Linked DNA regions of Homo sapiens: region 2 is linked to region 1. Evidence: promoter capture Hi-C in 16 types of primary human blood cells and fetal thymus (Javierre and others, 2016). All regions are on one chromosome and are shown on one strand. The core of a region is centred on a gene start or on the middle of the fragment in contact, and the rest is flanking DNA. Distances in the headings are between cores, read along the strand shown.

What was found. Contacts are between HindIII fragments. The CHiCAGO score rates a contact against its expected background, and 5 or more counts as called.
Region 2: a fragment that was not itself captured here is called in contact with the fragment with the promoter of AGXT2 in region 1 in 3 of 17 cell types (total CD8 T cells, erythroblasts and activated CD4 T cells); the score reaches 9.1 in total CD8 T cells.

Annotation. Positions count from the first base shown.
Region 1 is chr5:35,046,677-35,049,418 of GRCh38, reverse strand. AGXT2 (alanine--glyoxylate aminotransferase 2) reads left to right here and starts at 1,470. Exons shown (of 14, transcript NM_031900.4): 1 at 1,470-1,614. The coding sequence starts at 1,527. It also overlaps a transcript of PRLR not described here. The HindIII fragment of the contact is 8,089 bases long and covers 1-2,742 here.
Region 2 is chr5:35,957,936-35,960,696 of GRCh38, reverse strand. The region is part of intron 4 of UGT3A1 (UDP glycosyltransferase family 3 member A1); the gene reads left to right. Among named protein-coding and RNA genes, the nearest start is that of CAPSL-DT, 21 kb to the right of the region's middle. The HindIII fragment of the contact is 539 bases long and covers 1,193-1,731 here.

The DNA.
Region 1 (2,742 bases), core at 221-2,720:
CCCACTCCAGGTGACCCCTTGATGTTGGGTGCCTCTCATTACAAAAATCTCAAATCTTACAGACCAAGAAAAATCTCAAGTCAAGGAAGACTTGCGGTGTTCACAAAGGCAACATTGACCACAGTCCAGTAGAGCTGAAGAGCATATACCAGAATTCAGGAACTCAACATTTTCTCCCCTCTGTCCAACCACAGGACAGACTGTGCACCCCAGGGAGATGCTGTGTGTCCACTGGCCTCACTGACTTGGATTACTCCTGCAGCACGTGACCAGCCAGCTCATATGATCACTCCCTACTGCCCCCAAAGCAGAATTGACTGGGAGCTGGAAACCCACACAAAAAGGGACAATTATATTGAATGTAACATACTCCCTCTGCTTACCTAGTGCCTTCACCTCCTATGGGCATTTGGAGTAAAAGGTTGTTATGCAGGTGTTTGTGAAGGATGTGGCCAAGTCAGTTGTCTCCCTTACAGGGTGACCCAAGATTAATGATATCTACCCATCCCCAGTCCCTCGACCCCCTAGTTGCAATCAGCTTTGTCACTGTCCCCCTTAGGCACTGCCATGTAAAGCACGTGGTCCCCCATTCTGAAGCAGTGGGAAACCTAGAAGAGATGTACTCTTCGCAACCTGGTTGGATCTTAAAAACATGGTTCTAACTGAAAAGAAAAAAGACATATTACACATATTTACATAAATTAAAACTGCATTCACCCTAAACAATACACATTTTACAAGAATGCGTTCCAACAAAAGGATATATATAAGCATGCTAAATACTTGCTTATGGGGATTGAAGGTAAGGGGAGGCTGGAGTGGGATAAATAGGAATTTAAGAAATAATGAAAATAAGGCACACTAACTCCTTAGCTCTCAACCTTTTGCCTTCCTCAGACACATAAGATGATCCACAGCTGTCCAGAACCTTACCTAGCTATTTGGTACTCTCAGCTTTTCTTTGGAATGGCTCCTTCCCCATTGTTTTCTCCTCTCTTTCTCTAAGACCCCCAAAACCAATTTATTTGTTCATTCACTTCATGCATATCTTCCTTTTTCCTCTCTTAGTCACATACCTCGTTTCACAATCTCCGACCCCTTCAACCATGTCCTGATCCTTCTCCCACACCCAGCACCACCCTCCTGCAGAGAAAAGTGTACCCGGATGAAACTCCGATGGAATATTAAACTAACAGAACTTGTCAGATGACCTTTGCTTTATCTGCCTGCTTTCTTTCCTCTTCCCTTCTGTTCTCTTCTTTTCCTTTCTTTTCTCTCCTCTTCTCTCTCTCCTTCCTATTTTCATTCTATCTCTTTTCCTCACTCTCTTTTTCTCCCCCTTGAAGGCACTGTTACTAGAAATAGAGAGCTCTGGGGCTTGCCTGAAGCCATGGGCAGTCACCACTCCAGGATTCCCCTTTTAGCGCCTCCTCCCCATCTTAATCTCAAAGTCCAGCAGGATAGTGAGCAGTTAGAGCCCGGCCTCCAATCTGCTTCCATGGGGGTTGGCTTTCTGAGTGGGAGAAATGACTCTAATCTGGAGACATTTGCTGAGACCCTTGTGCCTGGTCACTTCCGCTCCCAGGATCCTTGAGATGCATCCTTTCCTGAGCCGTAAGTGGAAACCAGGGGGACGTGGGTCAGTAGAGGATCAGCGAGAGGGTAAGACTTGAGCTCCGAAGGCTGCTGCCTGGGATTCTGGAATGTTAGACCTGGGTGAGGTCTTAGAGATGAGGCATGTTTTTGACACACAGGTTCTCACCCTGAGTCAATGCCCCATTTTCATAGCCAATATTTTGTAATGCTCCTTTTTGTTTTGAAATGAAATTCGTGGATAATGAAACCCGACTATACACAATTTCAACATGACATGCTATCTCAGCTTCAATATTTTTAAAAACCAAAGGAAAGCAATCAAAATAGAGTGTGACTTCAATTTACAGATGCCCAAGGATGATTTCTATTTTTTCTTTTTTGAGACAGGGTCTCCCTCTGTCACCTAGGTTGGAGTACAGTGGTGTGATCATGGTTCACTGCAGCCTTGACCTCCAAGGCTCAAATAATTCTCCCACCTCAGCCTCCTGAGTAGCTGGAACTATAGGCACATGCCACCATGCCTAGCTATTTTTCTTTTTTAACTTTTGTAGACATGGGGTTTTACTATGTTGCTCAAGTTGGTCTCGAACTCCCGGGCTCAAGCAATCCTCTCACTTCAGTCTTTCAAAGTGCTCGGATTGCAGGCCTAAGCCATTGCACCAGGCTAGGATGACTATTTTAAAAGATGTAAAGCATCTGCATGAATTTTCATCATGCCTCTAGGAAGTGAGACCACGCTCTCAATTGCCAACAAGTGCTGTGATTCACCCAGAGTCATCCAAGCCAGGGCTTGACCCCAGGCCCTCCCCATCTACTCAGACTCTCCTCTCTGCAGCAAGAACAGAAAATATGAGGAGATGTGGGGTAACCAGACATTGGTGGCTTTATGAGTAATATCCTATATGCTTGTGATTTTCACATGGATCTTGTTTCACGAGAGCCTCACCTCCTCCTCAGCAAATTCCCTCATGCAAACATGAGATTAAGCAACTGTCTGTACATTTATGTGCCTGTGCTTCACGGGCCGTAAACAGGTACAGGGGACCATTTTACATTCCCCATTGTGACCAACTTTGCCTTCATTTTCTCCTCATATTTCCCTTTCACCCTCCTTCCTTCCTCTCCTCTTCGCTTTCTTACCCCTGA
Region 2 (2,761 bases), core at 213-2,712, 910 kb before region 1:
AGGGCGTTGAGCTGGTTAACACTTAAGCCGTCTGTAGATTGCAAAGCTAAAAGAGTGCACTGTAACACACACCATGCTCACGTGGGCTTTAGGAGTTGCAGGCACCCACCCTTATATACTGCTGTGGGGCCAGAGCCCCAAAGCACTCACCCAGGCTCATGCACCTGCCCGTCTGCATGCTCCCCCTTCTGTAAGGAGTTTGAGCAGCAGCGGAGGCTGCGGCCAAACTGACAAGCCACACCCTTGTCACATACCCTGTGAGGGGGGGTCAGGGAACTTTCCCATTTCACTGTCATCAAAATTTATTTGACCATAATGCAAAAGTCTATTTCCGGGCTCAGTCTTCTATTCCACTGGTCCATGTGTCTATCTTTATGGCAGTACTACACTACTTGGATTACTGTAACTTTGTAATATGTTTTGAAATCAGCAATTGTGAGAACTTCTTCTCTGCTCTTTTTCAATATTATTTTGAATATTCAGGGTTCTTGATATTTCTTACACATTTTAGAATGATTTTTCTGTTGCAAAAGAAGTTATTGGGATTTTGATAGGGTTTGTATAGAATATGTACATCCCTTTGGATTGTACATATTTGACATCTTAATAAGTGTCCCAATTCATGAAGCCAGAATGCCTTTCCATTTTTGTGTGTGTGTCTACTTTCTTTCAGCAAAATGTTCATGTTTTAAATGTAAAATCTTTCACCTCCTTGGTTAAGTTTATTTTATTCTCTCTGATATTATTGTTGAAATTGTTTTCCTAATTTCTTTTTTGATTTGTTCATTGTTAGTGTATGGAAATGCAGCTGACTTTGGAGACTTGACTTTTTTCCTTCGACTTTGCTGAATTTGTTTATTAGTTCTAATAGATTTTTAATCTTTAGTGTGTGTGTGTGTATGTTATTTTTAAAGTTTTACATATATAGAATCATGTTATCTGCCATTATTTCTTCAAATAGCCTTTCTTTCCCTTTCATTTTCTCTCGTAGTGCACATATTGATCCACATGATAATGTCCTATTGTCCCTTACATTTTGTTCATTCTTTTTTTCTTTTTCTTTCTCAGACTTGACAATTTCAAATAATTTGTCTTCAAGTTCACTGATTATTTCTTTTGCCCACGAGAAAAAAATTCAATTTAATGATTTCATATTTGAGCTCCAAAAATTTCCTGTTTTAAATTGAAAGCTTTCTCTTTGTTGATATTCTAAATGTGTTTACATATTGTTTTTCTTGTTTACTTTAGTTTTTTTCCCATGTTTTCCATGAGCTCCTTGGGCATATTTAAGAGAGTTTCTTTAAAAATATTTGTGTAGTAAGTCCAATGCCTGTGTTTCTTTAGGAAGGGTTTCTGGATATTTATTTTGTTTTTCAAAATTATGCATTTTGACTATTTCTTTGTATGCCTTGTGATCTTTTGTTGAAAATTGGACATTTGAACAATTAGTTACTTCTGTCAGTCTTTGCAGTCTGGCATGGAAGAGCATGTTTTGAGTGTTTTGATCAAGATTAAGGTCTTCTCAGGTATTTTTTGGTTATGTGTCTCATCTGGACTTTTGTGTGTGCTTTTCTTCCTCCAATTCCCTCTGTATGCTCAACTGTTTTTGAATGCCTTAATTTCCCAATGAACCTCGCCCAGACTCTTCTTGGACTTTAGATGTTCTATTATATTCTTCTGTCCATAACTTCTTGACCCAAGCCTTCATAGGTCTGCAGTATCCCTTAAGCTTTCATACGTCATGGTACCTACCACTGCTTTCTATGACTTCTGTCAGCTTGAAATCTGAGCTATGTCACCATTCCCAGTGTGAGCTCTGAATTAGGTGAGACAAACCAGTCACTAAGTAGCCAACAGACAGGTTAGAATGTTGTAAATAGTTTCTATTCTGCTCCTTCTGGCTGAGGGAAAGAATGCACAATTGAGCTTTTGCCTGTGGACTGTGGTCTGCCACTCCAGGGCAAAGGTAAATAAAATGGATTAGAAATTTATACTGTTTGAAAGTGGCTTTTTCTTGATTGGGCATTTGGTTGCTTGCTGTGTATCTTTGACTGGTTTTCAAAACTCTACGGAGTCATTTGAGTCAGTCTCCAGTTGATTTTCAAATGTTTCTCTGAAAGAACAAGGGCATGCGGCTGCTGATTAACATTATTGCTCTGCTTCTTTTGATTTTATATAATGATTTTATAATTACAAGAACAACAAAGCTGTTTTCAGTTTGTTAATTGAGATGGTAGTTCAGGCAGTGTTATGCTGGATGGAATCAAGTTATCCTACACAATGACCCAGTAGAATGAGGGGCTCAGGACTAGAGACAGTCACAAAAATGCTGAGAGAGGAAGAGTCTGAAGAAATGTTTGGAAGTAATAATTGATGAAACAGTGCTAGAGCTAAGTTTTAGGGCATTAGATCATAATCTTTCTTAAGAATTACCTGAGGACAAAAATAGGCTAGGTAGCTATGCAAATATCAGACAAAATAGACTATATGTCAAAAATATTTACAAGAGACAAAGAAAGGCATTACACAATATAAAATTTTATGTTTGCATTCACATAATTATAATATTATAAGTATCATTTAAAAATAATATATGAAATATCATCAACAATATATAAGAGCTATAAATATATATGCACCAAACAACAGAGCACCAAAATATGTGAAGCAATAATTGATGGAATTGAGGATGAAATAGACATTACTACAGCAATAGCTTGGGACTTCGATACCCCATTTTTAGTAATGGAAAGATTATCTA